6 separate regions of the Homo sapiens genome follow, and regions 1, 2, 3, 4 and 5 are each linked to region 6. The links are contacts of gene promoters, found by promoter capture Hi-C in blood cells and fetal thymus (Javierre and others, 2016). All regions are on one chromosome and are shown on one strand. Each heading gives the region's core, a stretch centred on a gene start or on the middle of the fragment in contact. The rest is flanking DNA. Distances are from core to core; before and after follow the strand shown.

The links. Contacts are between HindIII fragments. The CHiCAGO score rates a contact against its expected background, and 5 or more counts as called.
Region 1: a contact is called between a fragment that was not itself captured here and the fragment with the promoter of CCDC89 in region 6, in 6 of 17 cell types (naive CD8 T cells, naive CD4 T cells, total CD4 T cells and 3 more). The highest score is 9.8, in naive CD8 T cells.
Region 2: a contact is called between a fragment that was not itself captured here and the fragment with the promoter of CCDC89 in region 6, in 6 of 17 cell types (naive CD4 T cells, total CD4 T cells, total CD8 T cells and 3 more). The highest score is 12.5, in naive CD4 T cells.
Region 3: a fragment that was not itself captured here is called in contact with the fragment with the promoter of CCDC89 in region 6 in 6 of 17 cell types (naive CD4 T cells, total CD8 T cells, total CD4 T cells and 3 more); the score reaches 10.4 in naive CD4 T cells.
Region 4: a fragment that was not itself captured here is called in contact with the fragment with the promoter of CCDC89 in region 6 in 1 of 17 cell types (non-activated CD4 T cells); the score reaches 5.7 in non-activated CD4 T cells.
Region 5: a contact is called between a fragment that was not itself captured here and the fragment with the promoter of CCDC89 in region 6, in 2 of 17 cell types (naive CD4 T cells and total CD4 T cells). The highest score is 7.0, in naive CD4 T cells.

What each region holds. Positions count from the first base shown.
Region 1 is chr11:85,997,327-86,000,026 of GRCh38, forward strand. All of the region lies in intron 11 of PICALM (phosphatidylinositol binding clathrin assembly protein), which reads right to left. Among named protein-coding and RNA genes, the nearest start is that of PICALM, 70 kb to the right of the region's middle. The HindIII fragment of the contact is 4,873 bases long and covers 1-2,700 here.
Region 2 is chr11:86,195,480-86,198,179 of GRCh38, forward strand. It overlaps the pseudogene FNTAP1. Among named protein-coding and RNA genes, the nearest start is that of LINC02695, 3.3 kb to the left of the region's middle. The HindIII fragment of the contact is 9,506 bases long and covers 1-2,700 here.
Region 3 is chr11:86,017,899-86,020,598 of GRCh38, forward strand. The region is part of intron 4 of PICALM (phosphatidylinositol binding clathrin assembly protein); the gene reads right to left. Among named protein-coding and RNA genes, the nearest start is that of PICALM, 50 kb to the right of the region's middle. The HindIII fragment of the contact is 2,040 bases long and covers 249-2,288 here.
Region 4 is chr11:86,178,829-86,181,528 of GRCh38, forward strand. No RefSeq gene overlaps it. Among named protein-coding and RNA genes, the nearest start is that of LINC02695, 13 kb to the right of the region's middle. The HindIII fragment of the contact is 1,114 bases long and covers 719-1,832 here.
Region 5 is chr11:86,035,765-86,038,464 of GRCh38, forward strand. The region is part of intron 1 of PICALM (phosphatidylinositol binding clathrin assembly protein); the gene reads right to left. Among named protein-coding and RNA genes, the nearest start is that of PICALM, 32 kb to the right of the region's middle. The HindIII fragment of the contact is 8,252 bases long and covers 1-2,700 here.
Region 6 is chr11:85,684,907-85,687,636 of GRCh38, forward strand. It overlaps CCDC89 (coiled-coil domain containing 89), which reads right to left and starts at 1,289. Exons shown (of 1, transcript NM_152723.3): 1 at 1-1,289. The coding sequence starts at 1,224. The coding sequence ends at 100. RefSeq lists enhancers at 84-585, 586-1,085. The HindIII fragment of the contact is 2,434 bases long and covers 1-1,903 here.

The sequences.
Region 1 (2,700 bases), core at 28-2,527, 310 kb after region 6:
ATACACTACACAGTAAAATACTCATTAACCTCACTTCTAGTGCCTCAGTGTCCAAACTATGTATCAATGATACAGGGAAAAAATTTTACATGCATTTATGAATAGAGCCACCCCATCACACAACACACTATTTACATGATATATTTCTTTCTTCTTTTTTTTGAGACAGAGTCTCGCTCTGTCGCCCAGGATGGAGTGCAGCGGCGTGATCTTGGCTCACTGTAACCTCTGCCTCCCAGGTTCAAATGATTCTCCTGCCTTAGCCTCCCAAGCAGCTGGGACTACAGGTGCGCAGCACCGCATCCGGCTAATTTTTGTATTTTTAATAGAGACAGGGTTTCACCATGTTGGCCAGCCTGGTCTCAAACTCTTGACCTCAGGTGATACGCCTGCCTCGGCCTCCCAGAGTGCTGGGATTACAGGCGTGAGCCACTGTGCTCAGCCTCTTTTTTTGTTGTTGTTTTGCTTTTTTTGAGACAAGAGTCTCACTCTGTTGTCCAGGCTGGAGTGCAGTGATGTGATCTTGGCTCAATGCAACCTCCACCTCCTGGGTTCCAGTGACTGGCATGCCTTAGCCTCCCAAGAAGCTGGGATTAAAGGTGCATGCCACCATGCTTGGCTAATTTTTGTCCTTTAGTAGAGACAGGGTTTCACCACACTGCCCAGGCTGGCCTCGAACTCCTGACCTCAGATGATCCACCCACCTGAGCCTCCCAAAGTGCTGGGATTACAGGCGGGAGGCACCATGCCTGGCTTACATGATATATTTCTACCTCAAGACTTCTATGTAATTTTTTTTATTTGAGACAGAGTCTCGCTCCGTCGCCCAGGCTGGAGTGCAGTGGAGCGATCCTGGCTCACTGCAAGCTCCGCCTCCCGGGTTCATGCCATTCTTCTACCTCAGCCTGCCAAGTAGCTGGGACTACAGGCGCCTGCCACCACGCCCGGCTAATTTTTTATATTTTTAGTAGAGATGGGCTTTCACCGTGTTAGCCAGGATGGTCTCGATCTCCTGACCTCATGATGCGCCCACCTCAGCCTCCCAAAATGCTGGGATTACAGGCATGAGCCACCATGCCCGGCCGACTTCTATGTGATTTTAATGAACAACTCAAAACATGACCCCAGAGTGTCTAAGAATTCAAACACAGTACAGATAATTTTTTTAAGAGAAGGGGTCTGGAGGCTGGGTGTAGTGGCTCATGCCTGTAATCCCAGCACTTTGGGAGGCTGAGGCGTGCGGACTGCTTGAGTTCAAAAGTTCAAGATCAGCTTGGGCAAAATGGCGAAAAAATACGAAAAATAGTTGGGCATTGCGGAGTGCGCCTGTAGTCCCAGCTACTCGGGAAGCTAAGGCAGAGGGAATGCTTGAGCCCAGGAGGTTGAGGCTGCAGTGAGCCATGGCTGTGCCACTGCACTCCAGCCTGGGTGACAGAGTAAGTCACTGTCTCAAAAGAGAGAGAGAGATTGAGAGAGAAACAGACAAACAGACCAAGAGATGTTGCCCAGGCTAGCTTGTACGGCTGGGCTCAGGCCTTCCTCCTGCCTCAACCTCCTGAGTAGCTGGGACAACAGGCACACGCCACCACACCCAGCTCCTAATTTTTAACTTATATATTCTCCAAAATAGAATGTTTTTCTTTTTAAATGGATATACAATAATTGTACATATTTATGGGATACATATGATATTGTGATACATGCATACCATGTAATTATCAGGACATCTATCACACCTCAAACATTCATCATTTCTCTGTGTTGAGAACATTCTAAATCTTCTAGCTACTTTGATATAGGTAATACAATTGTTTTTAATTAGTAATTCTACTGTGCTATCAAACACTAGAACTTATTCCTTCTAACTGTATTTTTATAAAAAAGTTTTGAAGACATGTCTTTTAGATGTACAATAGTTGTGTAGATAGTAGATATAAACGCATTTAGTGCTTTGGGGAACATATAGAATATACAATAATAATTCTGTAAATGGGCTGTAAGATTTGCCCTTAATTACTATTAAAAAGGTGAAAATTTTTAGTATGTGACATAAAACATAGTGAAATTAGTTCTTTATCCAATAATTTGTTTCAGCCTCGAACAATGAACATTCTTTTCACTTCTTTCTCCTAGGACAGACTTCTTTTCAAGATCTCCATGTTGAGAACTTGCCCCTTAATGGGGTCAATGTTACTTAACTGGGGATTAAAGAAGGTAGCATACATGAGCAAACAAATCATAAAGCTGAAAGAAAAAAAAGAACTAAATTCAACAAACACCTACTAAGATTTCAGGGAGCAGGTAGCAACTGAGCATGCATACAGCAAGCAGTTCACGTAGTAAAACTTACACTGAGCTATTAGGCTCAGCTATTAGGAGTCAGTAGGCAGGCAGATGAGCTTTTAAGGGTGAGTTAATAAACAGCAACAACAAAGTGAAAGGAAAAAACTCACCACTCTCTATGGAACATTTAACATGTGCTAATAATGCACTGTGCTAAAACCTAGTCACCTGGGAGCATCTTAAAAACAAAAATTCTTGGGCCCCAGGCCCCACCTACTGAATCAAAACTCTAGGATTGGGACTCAGATATCTGTAGTTTAATAAACTCTCCAAATGCTTCTGATGTTAAAGTTGAGAACCACAGTCTCATCTGAAAACAAGGTTTCTCAAAAAAAGTTAAGAACTAACAGAGCCAGG
Region 2 (2,700 bases), core at 170-2,669, 510 kb after region 6:
TTTAAGCTAACCCGGGATGCTGTTGAGTTAAATGCAGCCAATTATACAGTGTGACATTTCCGGAGAGTTCTCTTAAAGTCACTTCAGAAGGATCTACATGAGGAAATGAACTACATCACTGAAATAATTGAGGGGCAGCCCAAAAACTATCTAGTTTGTCACAATAGGCGAGTAATAGTGGAATGGCTAAGAGATCCATCTCAGGAGCCTGAATTTATTGATAATATTCTTAATCAGGATGCAAAGAATTATCATGCCTGGCAGCATCGACAATGGGTTATTCAGGAATTTAAACTTTGGGATAATGAGCTGCAGTATGTGGACCAACTTCTCAAAGAGGATGTGAGAAATAACTCTGTCTGGAACCGAAGATATTTTGTTATTTCCAACACCACTGGCTACAATGATTGTGCTGTATTGGAGAGAGAAGTCCAATACACTCTGGAAATGATTCAACTAGTACCACATAATAGTTCATGGAACTATTTGAAAGGAATTTTGCAGGATCGTGGTCTTTCCAAATATCCTAATCTGTTAAATCAATTACTTGATTTACAACCAAGTCATAGTTCCCCCTACCTAATTGCCTTTCTTGTGGGTATCTATGAAGACATGCTAGAAAACCAGTGTGTCAATAAGGAAGACATTCTTAATAATGCATTAGGGTTATGTGAAATCCTAGCTAAAGAAAAGGACATGATAAGAAAGGAATATTGGAGATAAATTGGAAGATCCTTTCAAAGCAAACACAGCACAGAAAATGACTCACCAACAAATGTACAGCAATAACACCACCCAGAAGAACTTGATGGAATGCTTTGATATTTTATTAAGGGACTCTGCAGGAGTTTAAAATGAGGGTGATCCTTCCCTTTGCCTGTGGCGTAAAAATGCATCACACAGGTATTGCTTTTTAACAAGAACTGACGCTCCTTGGGTGCTGCTGCTACTCAGACTAGCTCTAAGCCATGTGATTGTTCTAAAGCAAAGTCATTGCATGGGAAGAGGAAGAAAAAGTCCCATAAACGAACTTTTGTAGTCTTATCAACATGTAATCAAATCCCTTAGCATCAGCTCCTCCCTCAGCGGTACACGCGTCAAGATTTGTAGCAGTAATAACTGCAGGTCACTTGTATGTAATGGATATGAGGTAGCTGAAGTTTGGTTCAGTAAGCAGGGAATACAGTGGTTCCATCAGAGCCAGTCTGCACACTCACATTATCTTGCTATCACTGTAACTAACTAATGCCAAAAGAACAGTTTTGTAATAAAATTATAGCTGTATCTAAAAACAAAAAACAAACAAACAAACAAAAACAATAAGGACTATCTTGTTTGTCATTGCATCTTTAGTCTTCAGTATTCTGAGCACTTAGGGGCAGAGCATGATGACCGGCTAACCCAACAACTACACCCAACTAATCTTTTGCCTGCTTCCACTATAAAAGCCAGAAAAAAAAGAATCATTTTTCCCAACCTCCCTTGCAACCATTAGACACTACACACACAAAAAAGCTCTGCCCAATAACATCTGAGCAAAGATCTTAGGGAGAAGCAGACTGCTTCTAAGAGCACTTATGCAATTCTGATAAAAGGGTCAGAGTGACTGATACAAACCGTCTCCCTTTCCTTCTGTCTTGAATACAAACATGATGCTTGAGTTGGAGTAGTGCCATCTTGCAACCATGAAGGAAAAGCCCAAAAGGCCACTGAGCCACCCAACAAATGCAGCTGCTGCATTTATGTTACATGAGAAAATTGTACCATCGCCGATTCAATCTGCTGTGTTTGTGTCATCTGTTACTTGCACCTGAGAACATTCCTAAGTAACTTATAAATTAATAATTTTTGTCACTTAAAAACAGGTAATTTTTTTATTTCAAATATTTTCAAATGTTTAGTCCCAGAAACTTCTCCTCAAGAGGAATTTTAAACTAAGCCGAATAAATAATGTTGATCAAAGGAGAGGTGTTCTCACTGAAGAGGAAAGGAGATTGCTGTGTGGACTACCAGCCTTTTTCTTACTCCCTTGTTTTCCCCAGTAGCTCCTGAAGCACATATTTAAAACTTCTATGGCTTCTCTGAATACTGAACTACTCTCTAACACTTGATGGGAGTGTAAACTTGAACAGCCTTTTTTGTGCACAGTTTGGCAGTTTGAGGACAATTCCTATCATGTTGTTAAATTATGTAATCTTTGACTCAGCAATTCCATTTCTAAGAATCCAGCCACAGATATACTGGCATTGTTGTACAGAGATATGTATATATATACAGAAGGTGGTTCATTACAGAATTGCCTAAAGGTTAAAAAAAGAAAGAAAAATTTTAAAAAACAACATAGATGTCCAATAAGGAACTCATTAGTTACTTTATAGCACATTCATCCTCTGGCATATTCTGCACCCATTACTGACATTGAAAGGTCTCCAGGATATAGTAAAGTAATATACCTTTAACATATATTTAAAAAGTAACTCATAAAATACTATTAAAAGAAAAATCAAATGAGTACATAAAAATATACATATGTAGGTATGTTAATGCATAGAAACATGTCTTGAATGAAGACAATGTTAACAGTGATTACTTTTGGGTAGTGGGATTGAGAGAGAGAGAGAGAACTTCAACTTTTTACTTTGTAAACCAGTATATTGTTTCAAAAATTGGCATGTATTTATTTTTCTTAGGTAAAAAATA
Region 3 (2,700 bases), core at 19-2,518, 330 kb after region 6:
TGTGTGTGTGCGCCTGTGTGAATATACACAGAAAGAGAAATGCAGATGTGGCAAAATGCTAAAAACTGGTGGTTCTGAGTAAAGTATACAGAAGTTCTCTAATATTCTTGCTACATTTCTGGAAGTGAAATTATTTTAAAGTAATATTATTTTTTAAAAGTCAGTAAACCAGCTAAAGTATCTCACTGAAGTCTCTCATCTAATTGGTGTGAAGCTAGAATTCAAACCTAGATTCATCTGACTAAAAAAGCTTGTGAGTTCTTACCACTATTAAACACAATGGAAAAGAGTGAAAAACCCAATAGAGAAGCTGTCAATGGACATCAAAAGACAATTAATAAAACAAGTATGGCATTCAAAAGGAAGGGGGAGTGTGCTCAATATCACCATTTATTCAATCAACTAATATAAAATGAACACATATGAACGCATTTTTCATGATGATGGAAGAATACAAATAACTATTTAAGCCAATAATTTAGTATAACTTTTATAAAGGATAATTTGGTGTTTTGTATTAAAATGTTAAATGTATATATATCTCAATGACTCATCAATTTTAATAATTTATTCTATAGAAAAACTCAATGCAACCATACATAAAAGGATGGTCAATCCACTGCTTTTATAAGATTAAAAAAAGGGAATAAATCAGATGTACACCTGCAACATAATTCTACAGCCATTCATAAGAATGAGATGGATTGAGGCCAGATGAGGTGGCTCATGCCTGTAATCTCAGCACTTTGGGAGGCCGAGACAGGTAGCTCACTTGAGGTCAGGAGCTCAAGATCAGCCTGGCCAACATGGCAAAACCCCATCTCTACTAAAAATACAAAAATTAGCTGGGCATTGTGGCGGGCACCTGTAGTCCCAACTACTTGGGAGGCTGAGACAGAAGAATCGCTTGAACCCGGGAGGTGGAGGTTGCAGTGAGCCAAGAGCACGCCACTGCACCCCAGCCTGGGTGATAGAGCCAGACTCTGACTTAAAAAAAAAAAAGAAAAAAATGAGATGGATCTATGTGTACAGACATTGAAAATGTCCAAAATACACAGGAGGGGAAGAAAAGCAGCCTTCAAAGAATCTGATCCAATTTTTATGTAATTTTCTATGTGCCTTTATATACATATTTCTATTTACTCGCACAGAAAAGGTTAGACACACTAAAATGTTAACATTTTCTATGAATTAGGATGGTATTTTTCTTAAATTTTATTACTTTTGTAAACATAAAAAAAAATCTTAATAAATCAAACTTTACTACTTACAATGAGAGTCCTCTCCAAAAGGTGTAGCCTACTGAGGTTTTTGCCATGATATAATAATTTCAATTGCTGTCATGTCCTCAATTTATACCTGATATTCTTGATTTTTTTCTTTTGTATTTATACAGTCTGACGTGTATATGTGTGTGTATAATGCCACTTTTGCACTTCTTCTTGGTCCCCACTCAATTATGGCTCCTCCTTGATTCAACTAAGTCAATACTAATTTTATTGTACTTAATCAGGAGCTATTTTCCTCCAATTAAAAAAGACTGCTCTATTAAATAAAAAAATTCACCAACTATTCTCAAGACTGGCCCTTCAAATTAGAACAAAAGTTACCATTTTAAAAATCTATTATTCTGAAATCTGTAAATACACTGAAGATCAACTTCACTGAAGACACTTTACAGTGAAATATTATTGGACAGGATACAGAGGTTAAAAATCAGACTTCTAAAAAAGTTCTCCACCATAATCTTCTACAAAGTGCTTAAATATATGAAACAAAATCTGTAGAATTTACTTTAGGTATATTCCAAAATAATCACCTCCTGATGGATTTGGAATGGCAGCATAGAACATTTAAATTCAGCTTTAAATTTTCTTGCATAACTAAGAGGTTACCTCTATATTTTAATTAAATTTTTCACTTCAGTCCATTAATTTAAAATTTCAATAGAACAATCTAAAGGAACACATCAATTGCTTAGACCTTTGGGATCACTGAGCAGCAGAGTGGCTCAGGAAGGCATTCACCAGACTATTTCTGTACATGCCAGATTCCCTTCAAGACAGGTCTTCATAGCTACAAGGGTCATCGCTGCTGCTAAGAATGTCTTCAGTGGCTTTCTCCTGAGGCCTCATCCTATATCCTAGGAAAAAAATCTGCATATCAGGTGTTATCACTTATAGAAGCACTGACTATATCATTCATGTGACTGGATCATGTACTAAGATGATTGTTATTTAGGGTGCAGCAAAAATTAAATGCATCTTCTGCATTTAAGATTAAAAGAAAGCTTAAATACAAAACAGCACTGAAAGAAATGAAAAAAGATCCAAATAAACAGAAACACATCTCTTGTTCATAGACTAGAAATTTAATCATTAAGAAGGTAATACTCCCCAAACTGATCTATAGATTCAATGCAATCCCCCACAAAATCCCAGCTATCTTTTCTGCAGAAATCAAAAAGCTGATCCTGAAATTCACATGGGAATGCAAGGGGCCCAGAACAGCTAAAACAATCTTGGGAAAAAAAAAAAAAAAAAAAGAATAGAATTGGAAGACTCACACGTTCTAATTTTAAAACACACTGCAAAGCAACAGTAATCAAGACAATGTGGTACTGGCATGAAGATATACATACAGATCAACAGAACAGAACTGCAAGTCCAGAAATAAACCTTTACATTTATGGTCAACTCA
Region 4 (2,700 bases), core at 26-2,525, 490 kb after region 6:
TGGAGCCCCAGAACCAGGGGAAACATGCTGCCTGGGTTTTGCTTTTTCAGTGGAAGCAGATTATATCAACCTTGGTCAGAAAACATCATGAAATTCTGTTCCACTGTTGTTTAAAATAAATATTTCTGTGAAAAATGCTGATAAAATTTGTATTAGTCAGGGTTCTCCAGAAAAATGGAACCAACAGGATTCATGTATGTGTGTGTGTAAAAAGAGCACTAAAGAGATGTTAAAGAATTGACTCATGCAATTATAGAGGATGATGTCTTAGTCTGTTTTCTGTTGCTTCAAAAGAATATTTGATCCAGCGTGTATTCTGTACTTAAAAAAAAAAAGAAAAAAAAGAAAATCTGAAACTGGGTAATCTGTAAAGAAAAGAGGTTTATTTGGCTCACACTTCTGCAGGATAAGAAATTCAAAGGCATGGCCTTGGCTTCTGGCGAGAGCTTTCATGCAGCATCACAACATGTTGGAGAAGGTCAAGCCGGAAGCAGACACATGCAAACAGGGGAAGCCAGGGGAGCGTCCTGGCATTATAGCAACCCACTTTCACAGGAACTAATCATTGCTATGAGAACCAGTTCAGTTGCCTGACAGCGAGAACGGACTAACTTGAGAACATCACAAAGCCATTCATGAGCGCTGTCCCCATAATCCAAATACCTTCCACTAGTCCCCACCTCCCAACACCAGCACACTGAGGATCAAATTCAGCATAAGCTTTGGTGGAGACAACCAACCATATCCAAACCATAGCAGATGGCAAGTCCAAAATCTGCAAGGCAGGCGAGCAGTCTGCAGAACCCAGAAAGAATTAATGTTGCAGTTCAAGGCTGAAGGCCGCCTGCTGAAAGAATTTCCTCTTGCTCAGAGGAGGTGAGTCTTTTGTTCCAGTTAGGCCTTCAACTGATTGGATAAGGCACACCCACATTATGAAGGGCAATCTGGTTTCCTCAAAGTCCAATAAATTAAATGTTAATTTCATCTAAAACACTTTCACAGAAACATCCAGAATAATGTTTGACCAATATCCGGGCATTGCAGCTCAGCCAGGTTGACACAAAATAAACATCACAAGACCACAAGCTGAAAGTTTTACAACCCAAGAGTCCCGTTAGAACTCTGATGTAGCTGGATGAGTGCCAGTTGCTAGAGGAGCCGCTGCACATAAAGGTCTTCATAATACTGGACCTCGCAAAACCATAGATCTACATCAGAGGAGAGAGAAGGAAGCCTGGCAAAGACGGAAAACTCATCAGGTAGACAGAAAGGTTATGACTGGGAAAGACTATTTTGGCAAACAGAGATTCCCTAGCCCTAATCCCTTTCCTTCTGTTTTTGTTTGTTTGTTTGTTTGTTTGTTTTTTTTGAGACAGAGTCTCGCTCCGTCGCCCAGGCTGGAGTGCAGTGGCATGATCTCAGCTCACTGCAACCTCCGCCTCCTGGGTTCAAAGGATTCTCATGCCTCAGCCTCCCGGGTAGCTGGGATTACAGACCCAACACCACGCCTGGCTAATTTTTGTATTTTTAGTAGAGACGGGGTTTCACCACGTTGGGCAGGCTGGTCTCAAACTCCTGGCCTCAGGTGATCCGCCTGCCTCGACCTCTCAAAATGTTGGGATTACAGGCGTGAGCCACCGCACCAGGCCCTTCTGTTTTGTTTCATAAATTAAGCAAAAGACCAGATAGGGGAGACACTGCCTTGTTTTTCCTTCAAATATACTTGGTGGACTGGAGTTCCAACAACCAGACCTTTGGGGCTGAGATAAGTTTTTCTTTCTAAGTCCTCAGTGTGGGGAACTACGACATCTGGCTTCCTGTTAGGAAGTTAAAGCTTGTGGCTATAGGAGAAGGTCTGACTCTTGGTGAAGCTGCAAAAGTCTTAGAGCTCTAAATATCGGGCTTTGGACATGGAGATTCTTTTATACGTTCAACAAGTATCCTTTGTGCCAGGCTTGATTGTACATGCTGGCAACATAACCATGAACAAAAGTCACAAAAATCCCTGCTTTCCTGGAGTTTTCATGCTACCAGGGGAGACAGACAAGAGACAATATGAATACGTGAAATACAACATATAATATGCTAATTACAAGTGGTAAAGAGAAAAATAAAGCAGGGAAGGGGACTAGCAAATGCTGGGGAACAGATGTTGTGATTTCAGATAAGGTGGCTAAGGAAGGCCTTGCCAAGTAAGTAACATTTGAGTAAAGACCGGAAGCACAAGAGAAGGTGAACAGTGTAGACAACTGAAGAAAAAGCATTCTAAGCAGAGAAATAACTGTAAAGGCCATTGTTGTGGGTTGAATTATTTCCCGTCGCCAAAACATATGTTGAAGTCCTAAGCCCTGGTACCTGTGAAATGTGACCTTATTTGAAGACAGGGTCTTTGCAGATCAAGTGAAGATGTGGTCATTAGGGTGGGACCTAATCCAATATGAATGGTGTTTTTATGAGAGGACACAGAGACAGAGAGACACAGGGAATATGCTGTGTGATGACAAAAGAGAGATTTAAGGGATGCAACTGCAAGCCAAGGAATGCCGAGAGTTGACAGCCATGGCCAGAATCTCAGAAGAGGCAGGCAAGAGTTCTCTCCTACAGGTTTTAGTGGGAGCATGGCCCTGGTTAACACTTTTCACCTCCGGAACTGTGAGACAGTAAATTTCTGTTGTTTTGAGCCACTCAGTTTTTGGTACT
Region 5 (2,700 bases), core at 143-2,642, 350 kb after region 6:
AAACTCTGTCTCTACTAAAAAAAAAACACAAAAATTAGCCGGGCATGGTGGCACACGCCTGTAATCCCAGCTACTTAGGAGGCTGAGGCAGCAGAATTGCTTGAGTCTGGGAGGCGGAGGTTGCAGTGAGCCGAGATCATGCCACTGCACTCCAGCCTGGCCTACAGAGCGAGACTCTGCCTCAAAAAAAAAAAAAAAAAAGAAAAAAAAAGAAAATTGGAGATAAAATTAATATGGAAGGCAAGGCAAATTAACTGGTTAATCAAATTTTGCTTCACTTATCAAATCTTTGTAATTTTTCCTTGGTGGGAGTAGAAACAAAAAGCATATTCATCAAAAAATAGTAAACAGAGGATAAGGAACTTTTATATGAAGTATCAGCAAAATTTTTTTCATATAGCAAAATTGTTTTAAGTATTTCAAAACTATGCAAGTTGAAATTAGACATAGGCTAATCAAAGTTAAACACAGGCAAATTTGCCTAGTCGTAAGTGTCAATGTCCAGGAAATGAAATGAACAGTCTTATTTCTTACTCCAATGATTTGTGAAAGGGATCATAAAATATGGTCCAAATTAAGATGTAACTGTTAAAATTTTATCTGTAAAGTTCATGGGGTCTTCTGTGAGAAACACAATGTTTTATTTTTATATAACTTCCAGTAGAATTAACTCAAAACTATGCTCTTCACAGGCTGACTTACACCTTAAGAAATCTAACCAACATAATTGGACTTTAATAACTGGGGAAATACTCTTAAAGACAGAATATGGAACGCTGAGTACAATGACAAAGATTGACAAAAATAATCAGATGGCTTTTAGAACAATACTAATGAAGCTAAGGGACCTAATTCATAATTTAAGTGGACATATCCAAGAGTGAAGAGTTAATCAAATGACACTACAGTCTGACTATGAAATACTATGAGGCCAACGAATGCATGGCACAAAAAATAAAAGCTGTCAGGAGAAAATGTTCACCACATATTAAGTCAAAAGTTATAGTAAAGAAAAATACACAGTACAATTCCATTTTTTAAAACTGTATGTGTGAGGCTAGGCATTGTGGTTCATGCCTGTAATCCCAGTGCTTTGGAAGGCCGAGGTAGGATGACTGCTTGAGGTCACGAGTTTGAGACCAGCCTAAGCAACACAGGGAGATCCTGTCTCAACAACAACCAAAAAAAAAAAATTTTTTTTGAGATGGAGTCTTGCTCTGTAGCCAGGCTGGAGTGCATGGCGTGATCTCGGCTCACTGCAACCTCCGCCTCCCAGGTTCAAGCGATTCTCCTGCCTCAGCCTGCCAAGCAGCTGGGACTACAGGGGCCCGCCACCACGCCCAGCTAATTTTTGTATTTTTAGTAGAGACAGGGTTTCACCATGTTGGCCAGGATGGTCTCAATCTCTTGATCTCGTGATCTACCCGCTTCGGCCTCCCAAAGGGCTGGGGATTACAGGCATGAGCCACCACACCCAGCCAAAAAAAAAAGAAAATTTTTTTTTTTTTTTTTTGAGACGGAGTCTCACTCTATCGCCCAGGCTGGAGTGCAGTGGTGTGATCTCGGCTCACTGCCACCTTTGCCACCCAGGTTCATGCAATTCTCCTGCCTCAGCCTCCCAAGTAGCTGGGATTACAGGCACCTGCTACCACGCCCGGCTAATTTTTGTATTTTTAGTAGAGATGGGGTTTCACCATCTTGGCCAGGCTGGTCTTGAACTCCTGACCTTGTGATCCACCTGCCTCGGCCTCCCAAAGTGCTGGGATTACAGGCGTGAGCCACCGCACCCAGCTCCCTAGTTTTTTTTTTTTTAATTACTGCTTGTAGTGGAGGTTGAGGCGGGAAGATAGTTTAAGCCCAAGAGTTTAAGGTTACAGTGAACTGTGATCACGACATTGCACTCCAACTTGGATAACACAGCAAGACACTGTCTAAAAAAAAAAAGTTATGTATGTGTAATATTTTTTTGTATATATTGTATTTGCCCAAATACAAGGTGATGCATACACAATCGAACACTTCCAAAATGACTTAGCAACTATGTCATATATGAAGTTAGAGAAAAATAATTTATAAAGGAACTATAACACTGTTACTTCCATAAACTAATCTCAGTACCTCTCATGTCACATAGCACACACCAGTTCTGTACTGTAATTTATTCCACACCCTTTAGAACGTTATCATGATCAAGAGCAGAAAGGAGAGCCATGACACATTCTTTATCTCCTCAAGGATGTGAGGAAGAGGTGGTACAAGAATAAGAGTGGCTGGGCCAGGCATGGAGGCTTACGCCTATAATCCCAACACTATGGAAAGTTGAGGCAGGTAGATCACTTGAGGTCAGGAGTTCGAGACCAGCCTGGCCAATATGGTGAAACCCTGTCTCTACTAAAAACACAAAAATTAGCCAGGCATGGTGGCACATGCTTGTAATCCCAGCTACTTGGGAGGCTGACACAGGAGAATCGCTTGAACCCAGGAGGCGGAGGTAAAAGGAAGCTGAGATCACAGCCATAGCACTCCAACCTGGGCAACAGAGCGAGACTCCATCCGAAAAAAATTAAACAAAACAAAACAAAAAAAGAATAAGAGTTGCATGGTAAAGTACCTGAGAATTTGGCAGCCACTATGCCAGAAGTAGGTCAGTATTTTGAACACAAGTTCAATCTCTTACAATGGTAAATGAGCCTTAAGGAA
Region 6 (2,730 bases), core at 39-2,538:
GAAAGTATAATAAATGGGATATCATCTTTACTCTTGCCATAATGCTAAGACGCAAATATTTGAATTCTGAATTGCAGGCCAGAGGAAGCAGAAACTTCCCTATGGAGAGAGATGGCGGAGTTTGCCATTGAGTTCTCTCTCCTTGCTTAAAAGATCCAAGCTGTGCTTTTTGAAGGCTTCAGACTGCAGCCTGAGTTCATCGTAGGCCTTCTGGATCCCATCTACTTTGCGCTGAAGCTCCCTGACTCTCAAGTTGCTGTCCACAGCCACTGCCTCTTGCTCAAACCGCTCCAGCGCATGCTTCCTGTCTTCATTTGCTATCTCCAACTTTTCCTCAAGCTGGCAGATCTCTGCCTGTTTGTTCTGAAGCACTTTGCCCCTTTCAATGGACAGCTGCAGCAACTCCTCTTTCTCTCTAGTGACGGTCTGCAGCCTGGCCTGCAGCTCCTGGCTCAGGCTGCTGTGTGTCTCCTCTGCCTTAGCTATCTGCTCCACAGCCTGCTGGTGCTGCTGCTTGAGGGTCTGCAGCTGGCTGCGCAGCTGTTCTGTCTCCTTGGTGTGGGTGCAGGCCTGCTGGCTCTGTAGCTCCAGCAGCTCCTTCTCGCGCGCCTGTGCCTGGCAGGCATCCTGAGCACACCTCTCCTTCAGCGTTTCTAGCTCCCCAGTGAGGGCCTCACACCGGACTGTGAGCTGTAATACTTTCGCCTCCTCATCCTTCAGAGCCTGGCTGAAGAGGCTGCTATTCTCCAGCCTCAGCTTCTCATTCTCCTCCCTCAGCTTGATGTTCTCACTCTTGTATTCATCCTTGAAGCGGAGCATCAACTCGTGGTTGGCTGCTAGGGTCATAAAGCGTTCCTCTAGTTTCCGACTGTACTCACCCTGGGCCTTGAGCTTCTCAGCCTCCTGCATCATCTTCTCCTCCAGCTCTGCATTGAGCAGCTCTAGGATCTGGCAGCGCTCCAGGGCCTCATCTGACCTCCGCTTCAGGATGCAGATGAGCTGGGACTGCTCTTCAATGCGGGAGCGAAGCATAGCCTTCTCGCTCCTCTCCTCCTCTGACAGTCCCCGGAGGTTTGCCAAGGCTTCCCTCAGACCGTCCAGTTCCTTAAACTCCGTCTCCTCTTCCTGGTTGTTCAGTTTTTCATTTTGCTTCTCTAAGCGTTCTTCAGGGGGCGGGGTGTCCATCCTGGGAGCCTGCTGTTTCTGGAGCATAGGCGCTCTCATCCACTAAGGGCTGACTACAGTCTTTTCCCCTCAGATTTCAAACGCTGCAGGGTGTTGCTAGGGACTCTTGGCACTCCCCAGCAGTTGGTTTTTCCAGTAAGGAGCCCTGTAATTGGTGGACAGGTCTTCAGAATGCTATGAAGTAACAACAGGGGAATCTGGGGGAGTCCAGAGCCAATCTGGTCGGGTTACTTTTGCCTTTCTAACCAATCACAGCTCTCAGTTGTCAACTGTCTCAGTGTCTGGCCTGTACAGCACAGAGATGCCAACCCCACTCAATCTCCAGCCAGCATCAGGGGAGGAAGCCTGACTCCACCTAATTTCTGGTAGTAGTAAACAAATGAAGCAGGCAATGATATATTTATCCTCCCTCTCCCCTCTTCAGTTATCGTTTGAATAAATTACTGTTTGTGGAAACATGGTTGGCTCCTCAAAAAATTTCAGTCTATGAATACAAAGTAGTAGTGGTATTCTGAGAGCCAGGACCCTAAAAGCCTGCATATCTGCACCCGTGATGTTTGGCACAGCTCCCTTTTGGTATTTAAGTATTAAAATAGAAAACACCAGTGAAATTTCTTTTGTTGTTCTTAGCATTGTCCCCACCTGGGCATAAATACTCTTTATTAGATATTTAACACCCCCTGTTTTTACCCATTAGCAAAATAAGGTTACAGAAAGAAGCTTAGTGAACCACACAGATAAACATTAAAACAGAAAAAATAAGATTCAAATGAAGCTTGCCATTATATGCCAAAGTCAACTCCTGATAGATTAGTTAAATGTAAACAGAAACTAGAAGAAAATGAAGGTAAACATCAAATCTCTGGGGCTAGGAAGGATTTTTTTTTTATCTTAAACATTATGTAAGATCAGAAAGGGAAAGCTTACTCAAAAAGTTATGTATAATTTTTTAAATTATGTGACTTCTGAGGTCTCTCCAGCCCCTTCTTCCACTGGATTTTCTTGACATTTTACTCCTCAAACCCAAATATTGAAGCCAAACCCAAATCCACTAACCAGCTCTCTCGCCCTATCTTTAGGTGTTCCTCTACTTGGAATGCCTTTCCTACTTTGTCCCTTGTCACTCTAGTAAAGCTTTTTATTCTTAGTTAAGAATCGTCTCTGAAGCCTATTCCTGGCCCCTACATGTCCAATTGGTCACTCACATCTTTTAGTGCATCCGCTATAGCTATTTGTACTTCTGGTGGAGGATGTGAAAATTTTATTGCAGTCACTGTTTATCTGCCAGCTTCCCTCTGTTAGACTGTAAGATCCTTAAGGGCAGGGACTGTGTCTATTTCATCCTTGATGATTAGACTAGTGCCTGGCACATGGGGGAGATTCAGATAAATGTGTATTAAGTGGATGTTGAAGGTAAAAATCAAATTGAGAAAAATATCCCTAATATGACAGACACTACTTTTTTTTTTTTTTTTTTTTTTTTTTTGAGACAGAGTCTCCCTCCATCGCCCAGGCTGGAGTGCAGTGGTACGATCTCGATTCACT